Linked DNA regions of Homo sapiens: region 1 is linked to region 2. Evidence: promoter capture Hi-C in 16 types of primary human blood cells and fetal thymus (Javierre and others, 2016). All regions are on one chromosome and are shown on one strand. Each heading gives the region's core, a stretch centred on a gene start or on the middle of the fragment in contact. The rest is flanking DNA. Distances are from core to core; before and after follow the strand shown.

Region 1 (6,928 bases), core at 4,190-6,689, 150 kb before region 2:
AAGGGTAGAATTAAGTTCACCTCTTCACTATATCAAATACAGAGAAATTTTTTGCTTCCTTAAATAGGAATCAAGCAACCAAAAAGCAGCATAAGTTCTGCAATAAATTCTTTTAAATACCCTCTTATTGATACACCTTACAGTCATTACTGGTTTGTGGTGGTATTTATTATTTTTTTATTTTTTGAGAGAGTCTCACTCTGTTGCCCAGGCTGGAGTGCAGTGGCGTGCTTGGCTCACTGCAACCTCCACTCCCAAGTAGCTGGGATTACAGATGTGCACCACCACACCAGGCTAATTTTTGTATTTTTAGTAGAGACAGGGTGTTGCTATGTTGTCCAGGCTGGTCTCCAATTCCTGGCCTCAAGTGATCTGCCCGCATTGGCCTCCCAAAATGCTGGGATTACAGGGTGAGCCACCGCGCCCGGCCTGTGGTAGTATTTATTACCACAATTTATTACACCCTGCTTGACAACAGGGACGTCCCTGATAGTCCTTGGAAAGAAATCACTCACAACATGATTTGACTTTTGGTATTATGCATATGAAAAACTACTATCATCATAAAAGTTGTAATCAAATAAGCATGAAAACTAAAATTTATGAGGAAAAAAAGGCCTGAAGTTGTAAGCTCACAGTAATATTGACTCACAATGTTGGACAAATAGCTTAATTATAAAGTTTATCGGATCCATGATTGGAATGGGATATTTTAATATATATTCTCAATAAATACAAAACTCACCAGACAGTATGCAAGTTGCTTGCATACTGTTAATATTTCTAAGAAATGTGTAGAGAACTTTTGTTTGAGGAGGACATGTATATTGTTTGTAATCATATGTACTCAAACATAATTCAAAATAAACTGAGGGACTGCATTCAGCTATGAGTAACAGGAAACACCCACAATGTTTCTATAATGAATAAGGTGCTTATTCTCACATGAAAGAACGGGGTGAGACCCATCTCTGCATAATGCAGCAGAGGAACAAGCTCCATGTAGGGTTTTTCGTTTTGTTTTTGGATAGTGCCATTGTAGCTCTCAACCTGCATCAGTAACACTCACTGTCCCTATGGACAAAAATGTTTATGTACAAACTGGACCGTACAGGAACCAAGTCAGATCATCAGACTATTCCCAACAATGACAATATGAACTGATTACTTGGCAGATATATTAGGGCCTTCAGGAATATCCAAATGGCAGCTGAATCTTTGATATGAAGCTTTTAAAAACATCTATGGAAATCCATAACTTTGAGAACATGGAGGTGAAGTAGCTAGTGGTGGATTAGAGGATACTCTTTTTTTTTTTTTTTTTTTTTTTTTTGAGACAGGGTCTTACTCTGTACTCTGTCACCCAGGCTGGAGTGCAGTGGCATGATCTTGGCTCACTGCAACCTTCACCTCCCTGGCTCAAGCGATTCTCCTGCCTCAGCTGGGACTATAAGCACGCGACACCACACCCAGCTAATTTTTGTATTTTTAGTAGAGATGGGGTTTCACCATGTTGACCACGCTGGTCTCGAACTCCTCACCTCAGGTGATCCGACCGCCTTGGCCTCCCAAAGTGCTAGAATTACAGGTGTGAGCCAGCACACCCGGCTGAGGATACTCTTGATTGGCAGGGCAAAGAATCAGGAAAATGGGCTAGATGACCATGTCCAAACAGCCCATATGCATCTGTCTCTCCGTATGATGCCTCCAAAATCTGACTAATGCGTTCTTCACTTCTGCATTCTAAACTTCCAGGAATTTAGGCTATTGATGCAGTCTACAGGTAACCATGAAAGAAAGAAATTCTGGGCCAGGCACAGTGGCTTATGCCTGTAATCCTAGTGCTTTAAGAGGCTGAGGCTAGAGGGTGACTTGAGGCCAGGAGTTTGAGACCAGTCTGGGCAACATAGCAAGACACCATCTCTACAAAAAAAAAAAAAGATGAAAAACCAAAAATAAAAAGATTAGCTGGGCTTGGTGGCACATACCTATAGTTCCAGCCATTTGGGAGGCTGAGGTCGGAAGGCCACCTGAGCTCCAGAGTTTGAGGTTACAGTGAGCCACAGTCGTGCCACTGCACTCCAGCCTGAGTGACAGAGTGAGACCCTATTTCAGAAAGAAAGAAAGAAATGAAGTCTGAAAAGTTTAGTTCCCATTACCCAGATTGACATGACACAATCCATGAAAGGCATCTCCCATTTTAGATTTTATTATTCTATCATAGCTGTCTCCTTATCCCAAAATCAATTATACAAAGAGCAGCCAGAATAAATAACAAGGAGTAAAGAACAACAGGTTAAAATAATAATTCACGAGACTACAGTCTGTGATAAACTTTACATACTTAGAATTAACAACAACTCTTTAATAGGAAGCAAAATAAAATTATTTGAGCCAAGAAAAAAAAAATGGGCTAGGTGTGATGGCTCACACGTGTAATCCCAGACTTTAGGAGGCTGAGGTGGGTGGATCACTTGAGGTCAGGAGTTCTACCAGCCTGGCCAACATGGTGAAACCCCATCTCTACTAGAAATACAAAAAATTAGCCAGGTGTGGTGGCACATGCCTGTAGTCCCAGCTTCCTAGGAGGCTAAGGTGGGAGAATCACTTGAACCCAGAAGGCAGAGGTTGCAATGAGCCGAGATCATGCCACTGTACTCCAGCTTGGGCAACAGAGCACAGAGCGAGACCCTGTCTCAAAAAGAAAAAAGAAGAAAGAAAAAAGAAAAAAGGAAAAAAAAGGAGCTGTTCCAATAAATATGATGGAATGTATATAATGTGGAAAGGGAATCAAGAACCTGCTAAATGAAGCAAGTAGGTTCATACCAACATTTATTAAGACTTATTTTTCAGTGGTCCTCAATCACAGAACAATTAAGCAACCATATACAATTTAACATACCTGAATATGAGAAACACATTTAAATTCATTGTTGGATTAAACACATTTCAAAATGGAAAGACAAATATTTTATTTACTGACCTAAAACAACACTACCTATGAAATTCATGCACTATTGCTTTCAGATTACTTACAGGATTATATCAATTTAACATTTCTTTGTGAGATTAAGCATTTGAAATCCATAGTCAGAGAACTATTTTAAATATGAGCCACTAATTAACAAAATATACATATAGCTTCTACATTTCCATCAGGTTATGTATTTTCTAGAGACTACATGACCCGCTATGCATGAGGCTTTTTGAAGTACTTACATTTATAGGATTTTGCTGTATTAGAAGTTTTCAAATGACTTTTTTTTTTTTTCTGAGATGAGGTCTTGCTATGTTTTGCACACTGGTCTCAAACTCCTGACCTCAAGTGATCCTCCTGCCTCAGCCTCCCAAAGTGCTGGGATTACAGGTGTGAGCCACCACACCCAGCCAGAGCCAAAACATCTGTTCAAATTCAATACCTCAACTAGTGAGGCCCTGCTGGGATTGAAATCCAGCATCTCCTGTTTGCCAGACAAGTACTTTAACCCACAAAGCCACAGAGCCAGAGCCCTCAAATGACTTTAAAAGTATAATGGAAAACCTTCCTTGTAGTTTTCACATTTATAGTGTTTTGATCCAGGGTACATTCTTACATGTTGTTGAAAGCATGTGGGCTGGCTAAAAACGTGTGGACATTGCTTATATTCAAGAGCTTTCTCTTTTGTGTGTTCTTTCATGGCTTCAAGTGGAACTAAAATGACTAAAGGCTCTCCCACACTCTTTACATTTACCAAGGTTCTCTCCACTACACATTCATGTGTGACAGGGTTGTGTGATGACAAAACCTTTCCTACACCCTTTACCCAGGGTTTCTCTCAAATATGGGTTCCTTTCCAAAAAGCATTTGTTTGGTTTTCTCCATGATGAGTTCTTTCATGTATTTGAAAGGAACTAAAATGATTGAAAGCTTTCCCATGTTACTTACATGTATATGGCTTCTCTCTAGAATTCTTTCATGTATTAAAAAAGGCACTGACAGAATTTCATGCTTTCCCACGTTACTTACATTCATAGGGCTTCTCTTCAGTGAGTATTTTAATGTATCTGACATGAACCCAGAGCATTAAAGGCTTTCCCACATGCATTTATAAGGTGGTCCATCTTCAGCATGTGTTAACATGTGTCTCTGAAAGCTGGCACGGCAAGAATAGGCTTTCCCACATTCCTTGCAATGATAGGGTTTCTGTCCAGTGTGAGTCCTTTCATGTAGTCGAAAGGAACTAGAAGATCTAAAGGCTTTACCACATCGCTTACATTCAAAGGGTTTCTCACCAGTGTGAATCATTTCATGTGTTCGAAAGGAGTTGAGATAACTGAAGGCTTTCCCACATTGCTTACACTCATAGGGTTTCTCTCCAGTATGAGTTCTTTCATGTATTCGAATTGATGTTGAAGAAACGAAAGCTTTACCACAATGTTTACATACATAAGGTTTCTCTCCAGTGTGAGTTCTTTCATGTATTCGAAATGGACTCAGAGAATGAAAGGGTTTCCCACATACCTTACATTTATAAGGTCCTTCTCCAGTATGTTTTATCATGTGTCTTCGCATACTTGGGATACAACTGAATGCTTCCCCACATTCCTTACATTCATAAGGTTTTTCTCCAGTGTGAGTCCTTTCATGTATTTGAAAGGTACTGGCAGATCTAAAGGCTTTACCACATTGTTTACATACGAAGGGTTTCTCACCAGTGTGAATTCTTTCATGTAGTCGAAGGGAGGGGAGATAACTGAAGGCCTTCCCACACTGCTTGCATTCATAAGGTTTCTCTCCAGTATGGGTTCTTTCATGTATTCGTAAGGTTGGGGAACAACTGAAGGCTTTACCACATTGCTTACATTTAAAGGGTTTTTCTCCAGTGTGAATTCTTTCATGCACTTGAAATGAACTCAGAGAATGAAAGGGTTTCCCACATACCTTACATTTATAAGGTCCATCTCCAGTGTGCTTTATCATGTGTCTTCGAACACTTGTGATACAAGTGAAGGCTTTTCCACATTCCTGACATTCATAGGGTTTCTCTCCAGTGTGACTTCTTTCATGTGTTCGAAATCTACTGGGATAATCAAAAGCTTTCCCACACACCTTACATTTATATGGTGTATATCCACTGTGTGTGATGATGTGTCTTCTAATTCTTTTGAGAGAAAAGAAGGTTTTTCCACATTCCTTACAATCATAGAGTTTCTCTCCAGTGTGAATTATCTCATGTGTTCGAAAGGAGTGGTGAGAACTGAAGGGTTTCCAACACTGGTTACGTGTATCTGGCTTCTCTCCATATTCCTGATATTCCTTTGGTTCATGTCCACTGTGATCTTTGATGTGTCTATTAAGGGATGACTGACCCATGCTGACTTCTCCATATACAATGCTTTCACAGAGTTTCACTCCAGGGATTTTCTTGCTCAGATTCTGATTTGCAAACTGGCTAAAAATTCCTCCACGCTGACTACCATCCTTAGTTTGATAGAGTCTTTCTAACATATGACTTCTGTAAAAAATGAGACGGACATTACTAAGGATTTGTTAATCATTTTATATTAATAGCTATTAAACTTGCATTTTCAATATTATCAGGTAAAGCGTAGACTCGATGCCAAGTCTGATTTGTTTGAGCATGAATGAATTCAATGCTCTGCAATGGGCTTGACCGCAACTATCACTCAAACAGTGATATTCTTAAATAGTTTCTTAATTCTGTTGACAAATGAACATTTTTATAAAAACTGAACATCTGTTTACACTGAAGAATATGTATTTGGGGAAAATATTCAAAAAATAAATCAATTTGAAGCTTGGCTTATCAGTTATGTTTGCCTGTTTTTAAAATTTCATGACATGCTAAGGTACTTTCAAGTGAATTTGCTTTCTCTGAGTACAAATTACCTTAGATTTCTCCCTCGGTGTTTGTAGTGATCTTTAATGTTCTGGTCCTTCCATTTTTTCCCTAAAACAGAGACCCAGAAAAATTCTGAATTAGTGCAAAATTATAGAAAAATTATTAGATTCTAGGTTCATGATACCCTGTGACTATGCCTGTTTTAGCCCCCCAAGTACTCTCCCTCCATGATGCAAACCATGGAACAGCATCACTGCACAAGAAGCACTTCTTCTTTAATTGCTAAGTGATGGAAGTATACAATCCTTACCTATAGAGGCCAGATTCCTCATGGTTTCCCACATCACATCTCTGTAGAGATTCTTCTGGGAAGGATCTAGCAAAGCCCACTCCTCCTGGGTGAAGTTCACATCTACATCCTCAAAAGCCACCGAGTCCTGAAACATCCCACATATGTGGAGAGGAGAATGGGTGAGACAGACAGGGCTGGGGAGCTGTACTCAATTCATAAGAAGTTCACATGTTTCAGGGGTCTGCAAACATTTACTCCACTGTTTGGTCATCATACTCACTTCCTTCCACACAGCAACTCTCATACTAGAATGGAACTATCGGGTAGAACAATAGCAGTGTCTGATCATCTTTCTTGGTGGTGGTTGCAAGGAGTAATACGTGCTGCCTGAGTCCCAGCTAATGTCTGCTCATACAGTGGACCTGTAGAACCTGTCATAACGAAGTCCTACCACCTACTATGCAAAAGAGTTTATATTAGCAGTCCTGAGACTGCTTACCCTTAAAAAAAGGCTCCTCACTCCTCACAACATTCATCTGAGGTAGGAGACCAACAGGACTTGTATTCTGATCACAACCCTACTGGCCAAAACAAGATCTGGCACAGGTAGGATAAAGTAAAGAAAGGGGCCAAAACCAGCAGACGACAAGAACAGCGATCTCTAGATGCTCTCACTGCTCATTAGCATAAAACACTCCCACCAATGCTATGACAGCTTACAAATGCCATGGCAATGACCTGAAAGTTATCATTCCTTCCTTAGAAAGTTTTAAATAACCCACCACTTAATTTG
Region 2 (6,902 bases), core at 652-3,151:
GTTAGTAAATCCTCAACCAATTATCCTGTTCCAGTGATTTAGTTGCTGTATAAGAGTTCCAACATAAATGTTGCCAGGAGCTAAAAGTATGACTCTACATCTGAAAACCCTTTTGCAAGAATTATAACAGTGAGAAAATTATGACAGTGAAAGAGATCAGATCTAAGCGAACTCCATCTTTTCTTTAGCCTCCAAGCTACCCTTGTTCATTCCCGGGTATAGGTCTTACTAATATTGGAAGGAGTTTAGTTTAGCTTTAAAGCAAAAGTCATAACTGCCGCTTCCGTAAAGAAATTGTCTCCTTGCTTGGGAACCAGATTGCCTTTGTAAAACTAAGAAATTAGCCACAAGATTAGAAATTATGGTTCAGGAAATATGCGGCCAGAGTACACAAGATTCCCAACCTTCTCACTTGCTCCTGTGGATAATATTATTGTTGTAAGACCTAAGATTGGTGTTTGAGGTATTTTTGAGACCCTTCATTCTGATAAATTTGCTGGCATCACACAGACCAATAAACTGGCTCACCTGCTCCAGTGGCCCCTAGCCAAGAACTGACTCAGTGCAAGAAGACAGCTGAGACTTCCTGTGATATCCTTTTCGCGACCAATCAGCATTCCCCATTTTCCAGCCTTCTGCTCACCAAATTATCTTTAAAACCCTAGCCTCGGCCGGGTGCGGGGGCTCAGGCCTGTAATCCCAGCACTTTGGGAGGCCGAGGCGGGTGGATCATGAGGTCAGGAGTTTGAGACCAGCCTGACCAACATGGTAAACCCCGTCTCTACTAAAAATACAAAAATTAGCCGGGCATGGTGGCGCATGCCTGTAATCCCAGCTACTCAGGAGGTTGAGGCAGGAGAATCGCTTGAACCCGGGAGGCGGAGGTTGCACTGAGCCGAGATTGCGCCACTGCACTCCAGCATGGGCGACAGAGAGATTCCGTCTCAAAAAAAAACCAAAAAAACAAAACCTAGCCTCCCATTTTTTAGGGAGACAGAATTGAATAAAAATAAAACTCTTCTCTTTCATTTAGCCGGCTCTATGTATATTAAACTCCACTGCAATTCCCTGTCTTTTTTTTTTTTTTTTTTTTCGGAGACAGGGTCTCACTCTGACATCCAGGCTGGTAAAATCACAGCTCACTGTGGCCTCGACCTCTCTGGGCTCAGGCGATCCTCTCATTTCAGCCTTCCGAGTAGCTGGGACTGCAAACATGTACCACCACGCCCGACTAATTTTTGTATTTTTTGTAGAGGCGGGGTTTTGCTATGTTACCCAGGCTGGGCTTAAGTTCCTAGGCTCAAGCAATCTGCCTGCCTTGGCTTCCCAAAGTGGTGGGGTTACAGGCATGAGCTACCCCCACCCCCCCAGCCCACCGCCGGACGAGCTAAAGTTTCTATTCAACAGTACTCTATGGCAGGGGTCCCCAACCCCCGGTCCATGGCCTGTAAGGAACCAGTCCGCACAGCAGGAGGTGAGCGGCTGGCGGGCGAGCCAGCGGGCATTATCGCCAGAGATATGCTTCCTGTCAGATCAGCAGAGGCATTAGTCTGTCATAGGAGCCCGAACCCTATTGTGAGCTGCACATGCGAGGGATCTAGGTTGGGTTCGCCTTATGAGGATAAAATGCCTGATCTGAGGTGGAAGTTTCATTCCGAAACTATCTGCCCCCGTAGGAGAACTGTCTTCCACGAAACCGGTTCTGGTGCTAAAAAGGTTACAGACCTCTGGCTTAAAGAATCTATCGCTGGATCCGGTCAAACCCGTTTTCAGAGCCCCGTTACCAAGGGCTTCTATTGTCACTCACGGCTGAGGGGGCGGGGCCCGGCGCTTCGTCCAATCAGGGGCGCTGGGCGGGGCCTGCCGAGTGTCCATCGGGGAGGGCGAAGGCCCTGCTCTCCTCGGTTCCCGGCTCCAGGCGGCGAGCTGAGGTTGGGAGCCTGGCTTTCCCCTCCGAGAGGGTTCAGGTGCCTCTGCCATAGCTTCTGTCGCCTGTGCTGTGACCCGCACTGGTCGTGGGAGTCACCTGAAAGGCAAGAAATGGTGAGCGTGCGGGCCAGGGGTCCCGAGGCGGGGGAGGAGCTGGTTGGAACCGGCCGGAACCGGCTGTGGTGGGACCCGGGCCTCCCCGCGGCGACTCCGGGGTCTGGGACCCGATTTCCCGTGGGACAGCTCGGCCCTTGGTCCCCTTGGCCCCACAGTGGGGCTGGGCCGGCCGCCGGGACCCGGGCGTCTCGTCCTGTCCCTGCGCGGTGACTGTCACCCAGTTCCCAGAGCCCTCTCTGGGCAGCTCCGCGCCCGCTGCCCCGCGTCTCCCCACATTGTGCGGGGACTACGCGAGGGTCATGGGGGGATCCCGCCTCGGGTGTGGGGGTTTGTGTAGGAGGAGGGTGGGCTGTGGGGTCCCCAGTAGCGCCTTTCTCCTCTTAAAAATTAAACTGAGACACGTTAACAATTATAGTTTTGCTTCTCAGAATAGGTTTTAAAAAATATATTAATAATTAGAGTTCCTTTGAGATTCCTGAATGATAAACACCCAGTCCTGGCTTGTAATTTGTTAACGGAAAATGCCAAGCTGTGTAAAATAACTTAAAGAAGTTTATTCAGAGCCGAATAGGAGAGGCCTCAGCTGAGGAAAACACAACCCCAGGAGGCCTGAAGTAAGTGGTCCCGAGGCGGCTCAAGACTGTTTTTATTCATTTCAGGGAGACAGGAATTGCAGGGAGAATCATGCATCAATGCCTGGAAAGGTGTAAGTTCCTTTGGCAGAAAGGGCGGGACCTGTGGAAGGGGGGTTAGAAGGTGCAGGTGGTTGAGGGATTCTGAAGGTGGCCGTTGGTGGAGAGTGTGAAGCTTTGTCTAAAACTTCGAGGCGGTAGGAAGGATTGCTTAAGTGAAGAGGGTCTGGTATCTGTCATATGATTTCATCCCACCCAAAACAAAAGACCTGTTTCTTTAGATTTTGTGAATTCTAAGATTTGACTTACCTCTTGCCTTGCATGGCCTTAGGTCTTGTTTGTAATTTGGTTTCTTATTGTCACAGAGAGTCTGTGTTTCCAGTTGGCTGATGTCTGTTTTAACATGAAGGTGGGTCAGTGGCTATGTGGAAACTCCTAAAGGAAGCGGGTATAATGAGGCCTGTCCAGGTATAGTGAAGCCTGTCTGATGGTTAATCTGTAGTCAAGTGTGGGAGGGTTCCAGCTGGCTCTTTCCAGTGTCAGGTGACTCAATTCCAGAGTCACATTACTTTAAACTTCAAGATAATTTAGAGTTCCAACAGCTTCAATTTTTGAATTACTTATTTTCACAGACCATACAGTGGAAAATTTTTGGTTGTATAATCAGAGGTTACTCGACCAATTGTACCTGGTTAAGCCCATATTTCATTTCCCAATAAATTAGTAACTTGTTATTGTTTTCTCAGGCCACATACCGTCACATAAGTTAGTACTTTATATGAATAGCATTTGAATTTGATTTCCATGTTCTTGGCCAAGATCTTAGAGTACTATAGGCATTAAGTTTAATTACTTCTTATTCAAAATTTTCAACACTCCCCAGTTAACTGGTACTTCTCTGCATTTTCCAAATATATGGGAAGTGAGATCTCAAACCCTCCACCCTGTGACCCTGGCCTACCTCTGGAGAGCTTGCAGTACAATACTAAAATTTCAGTTCCTTTCTAAAATTTGCAGACACCAACTCTCCTTCTTCAATTTGTAGTATCAACTATTTGTTTTTGTTTTTGTTTTTTTTTGGAGACAGAGTCTTGTTCTGTCACCCAGGCTGGAGTGCAGTGGCGCGATCTCTACTCACTGCAAGCTCCGCCTCCCGGGTTCACGCCATTCTCCTGACTCAGCCTCCCAAGTAGCTGGGACTACAGGAGCCCGTCACCACGCCTGGCTAATTTTTTGTATTTTTAGTAGAGACGGGGTTTCACTGTGTTAGCCAGGATGGTCTTGATCTCCTGACCTTGTGATCCACCCGCCTTGGCCTCCCAAAGTGCTGGGATTACAGGTGTGAGTCACTGCGCCTGGCCCGTTTTTTGTTTTTGTTTTTTTGAGACGGAGTCTCGCTCTGTCGCCCAGGCTGGAGTGTAGTGGCACAATCTCTGCTCACTGCAAGCTCCACCTCCCGGGTTCATGCCATTCTCCTGCCTCAGCCTCGTAAATGAAAATGCACTGGCCAGGTGCAGTGGCTCATGCCTATAATCCCAACACTTTGGGAGGTTGAGGTGGGTAGATCACTTGAGGCCAGGAGTTTGAGACCAGCCTGGCCAATATGGTGAAACCTTGGCTCTACTAGAAATACAAAAGAAATCAGCCAGGTGTGATGGCACACACCTGTAGTCCCAGCTACTCCAGAGGCTGAGGCCTGAGAATTGCTTGGACCTGGGAGGTGGATTCTGCAATGAGCGGACATCGCACCACTGCACTCCAGCCTGGGCAAGTGAGTGAGACTCTGTCTCAAGAGAGGGGAAAAAAAAAAAAGGAAATGCACTTGGGGCACACAGGGGCACAGTGCAGTGTTGTTGGAAAATAGTCACTCAGCACTTCAGTGAGCAGGATGGGCACAGAGAAATGTCCCATGTGATAGGATGGCCTGACACTTGAGTCAAACATCACTGTGTTCTTTCTAGTCAGCATTGCCCCTCTGTGGGTTTGTCTTTTTGTAAATAATTGTTCACTTATTGCAGCTTCAGGTTTTTTATTAATTGTAATTTGCATTTTTCACTAGACCTTGCAAAATAAGAAAATTTTACACACAGGCCAGAAAGAGGTAGATTTCAGAAAAATGGCTGGATGCAGTGGCTCACACCTGTAATCCCAGCACTTTGAGAGGCCAAGGCAGGTGGATCACCTGAGGTCAGGAGTTCAAGACCAACCTGGCCAACATGATGAAACCCTGTTTCAACTAAGAATACAAAAGTTAGCTGAGTATAGTGGTGCATGCCTATAATCCCAACTACTAGGGAGACTGAGGCACGAGAATCCCTTGAACCTGGGAGGTGGAGGCTGCAGTGAGCTGACATTGCACCACTGTATTCCAGCCTGCACTACAGGGCGAGTCTCCATCTCAAAAAAAAAAAAAAAATCGCTATTTAGTCTTATATTCCATTTCTTAATATGTTTTTTTCTTCTCTGCGGGCAGTGTAGTACATTTCTCAGGTGTATCCTTTTGTTGTGGGTGATTTCCAATGATGTTATAGGGACTAGTTTTAGGAATGCTACTGGAGAAAAATAGGGAAAGTTTACTATTTTAACTGGAGAAAAATGAAATAATTTCCACAAGAAAGTATGGTAGATTGGTGAATTACAAAGAGTACCCAAAATATCAGTTCTGGCCAGGCGTGGTGGCTCACGCCTGTAATCCCAACACTTTGGGAGGTCGAGGCGCACAGATCACCAAGTCAGGAGATCGAGACCATCCTGGCCAACATGGTGAAACCCTGTCTCTACTAAAAATACAAAAAAAAAGCCGGGCATGGTGGCACAAGCCTGTAGTCCCAGCTACTCGGGAGGCTGAGGCAGGAGAACTGGTTGAACCTGGGAGGCAGAGGTTGCGGTGAGCCGAGATTGCGCCACTGCACTCCAGACTGGGCAACGGTGAAACTCCATCTCAAAAAAAAAAAAAGAAAAAGAGAAAGAAAAAAAAAAAACAGTTCTTTGCAGGATGGAGGACTTTTTTTTTTTTTTTTTAAAGGGTCTTGCTGTCACCCAGGCTGGAGTGTACTGGTGTGATCACAGCTCACTACAGCCTTGACCTCCTGGGCTCAAGCAATCATCGTGAGCCTCCCGAGTAGCTGGGCTCACAGGTGCATGCCACTCTGCCCAGCTAGTTATTTTTTGTAGGGATGAGGTCTTCCTGTATTGCCAAGATTTCGTGTCTTATTTCCACAAAGAGTCTGTTTTGTCTTTTGATATTACTTTATTTTTTAGACAGAGTCTCACTGTGTTGCCTAGGCTGGAGTGCAGTGGCACGATCTTGGCTCACTGCAACCTCCACCTCCTGGGTCCAAGCGATTCTTGTGCCTTAGCCTCCTGAGTAGCTGGTGACTGCCACCACGCCCAGCTAATTTTTGTATTTTTTTTAGTTGAGAAGGGGTTTCGCCATGCTGGCTAGGCTGATCTTGAATTCCTGACATCAAGTGATCCGCCCCTTCTTGGCATCCCAAAGTGCTGGGATTACAGGTGTGAGCCACTGTGCCTGGCTTGATATCTATTTTAACATGAATGTTGGTCAGCTGCTTTGTTTTTTTTTTTGTTTTGTTTTTTTTTTTTTTTTGAGATGGAGTCTCACTCTATCAACAAGCTGGAGTGCAGTGGCGCAATCTCTGCTCACTGCAACCTCCGCCTCCTGGGTTCAAGCAAATCTCCTGCCTCAGCCTCCCAAGTAGCTGGGACTACAGGCACGCACTACCACATCCAGCTAATTTTTGTATTTTTAGTAGAGACGGGGTTTCACCGTGTTGGCCAGAATGGTCTCAATCTCTTGACCTCGTGATCTGCCCACCTCAGCCTCCCAAAGTGCTGGGAGTACAGGCGTGAGCCAGCCACACCACTGCAACCCCCACCTCCCAGGTTCAAGTGATCTTCCTGCTTCAGCTTCCCAAATAGCTAGAACTACAGGTGTTTTCCACCACACCCAGCTAATTTTTGTATTTTTCATAGAGACGGGGTTTCACCATGTTGCTCAGGCTTGTCTCGAATTCCTGAGCTCAAGTAATCCTGCCTCCACCTCCAAAAGTGCTGGGATTACAGGCATAAGCCAGTATGCCCAGCTCTTTTAGTTATTTCAAAATGTACAATATATTATTTTTTACTATAGTCAACCTGTTGTGCTTGCAAATGCTTAGTCTTATTCATTTTTTCTGTGTTTTTGTACCCATGGACCCTCTCCAT

The links. Contacts are between HindIII fragments. The CHiCAGO score rates a contact against its expected background, and 5 or more counts as called.
Region 1: a fragment that was not itself captured here is called in contact with the fragment with the promoter of ZNF433 in region 2 in 1 of 17 cell types (erythroblasts); the score reaches 6.4 in erythroblasts.

The regions. Positions count from the first base shown.
Region 1 is chr19:12,185,137-12,192,064 of GRCh38, reverse strand. It overlaps ZNF136 (zinc finger protein 136), which reads right to left. Exons shown (of 4, transcript NM_003437.5): 2 at 6,154-6,280; 3 at 5,891-5,951; 4 at 2,194-5,495. The coding sequence ends at 4,064. Among named protein-coding and RNA genes, the nearest start is that of ZNF136, 26 kb to the right of the region's middle. The HindIII fragment of the contact is 722 bases long and covers 5,079-5,800 here.
Region 2 is chr19:12,030,678-12,037,579 of GRCh38, reverse strand. ZNF433 (zinc finger protein 433) reads left to right here and starts at 1,901. Exons shown (of 4, transcript NM_001308348.2): 1 at 1,901-2,043. The coding sequence starts at 2,041. It overlaps ZNF433-AS1 (ZNF433 and ZNF878 antisense RNA 1), which reads right to left. Exons shown (of 3, transcript NR_134929.1): 2 at 1,808-2,026. RefSeq lists silencers at 1,787-1,946, 2,187-2,236, 2,247-2,366. The HindIII fragment of the contact is 7,472 bases long and covers 1-2,855 here.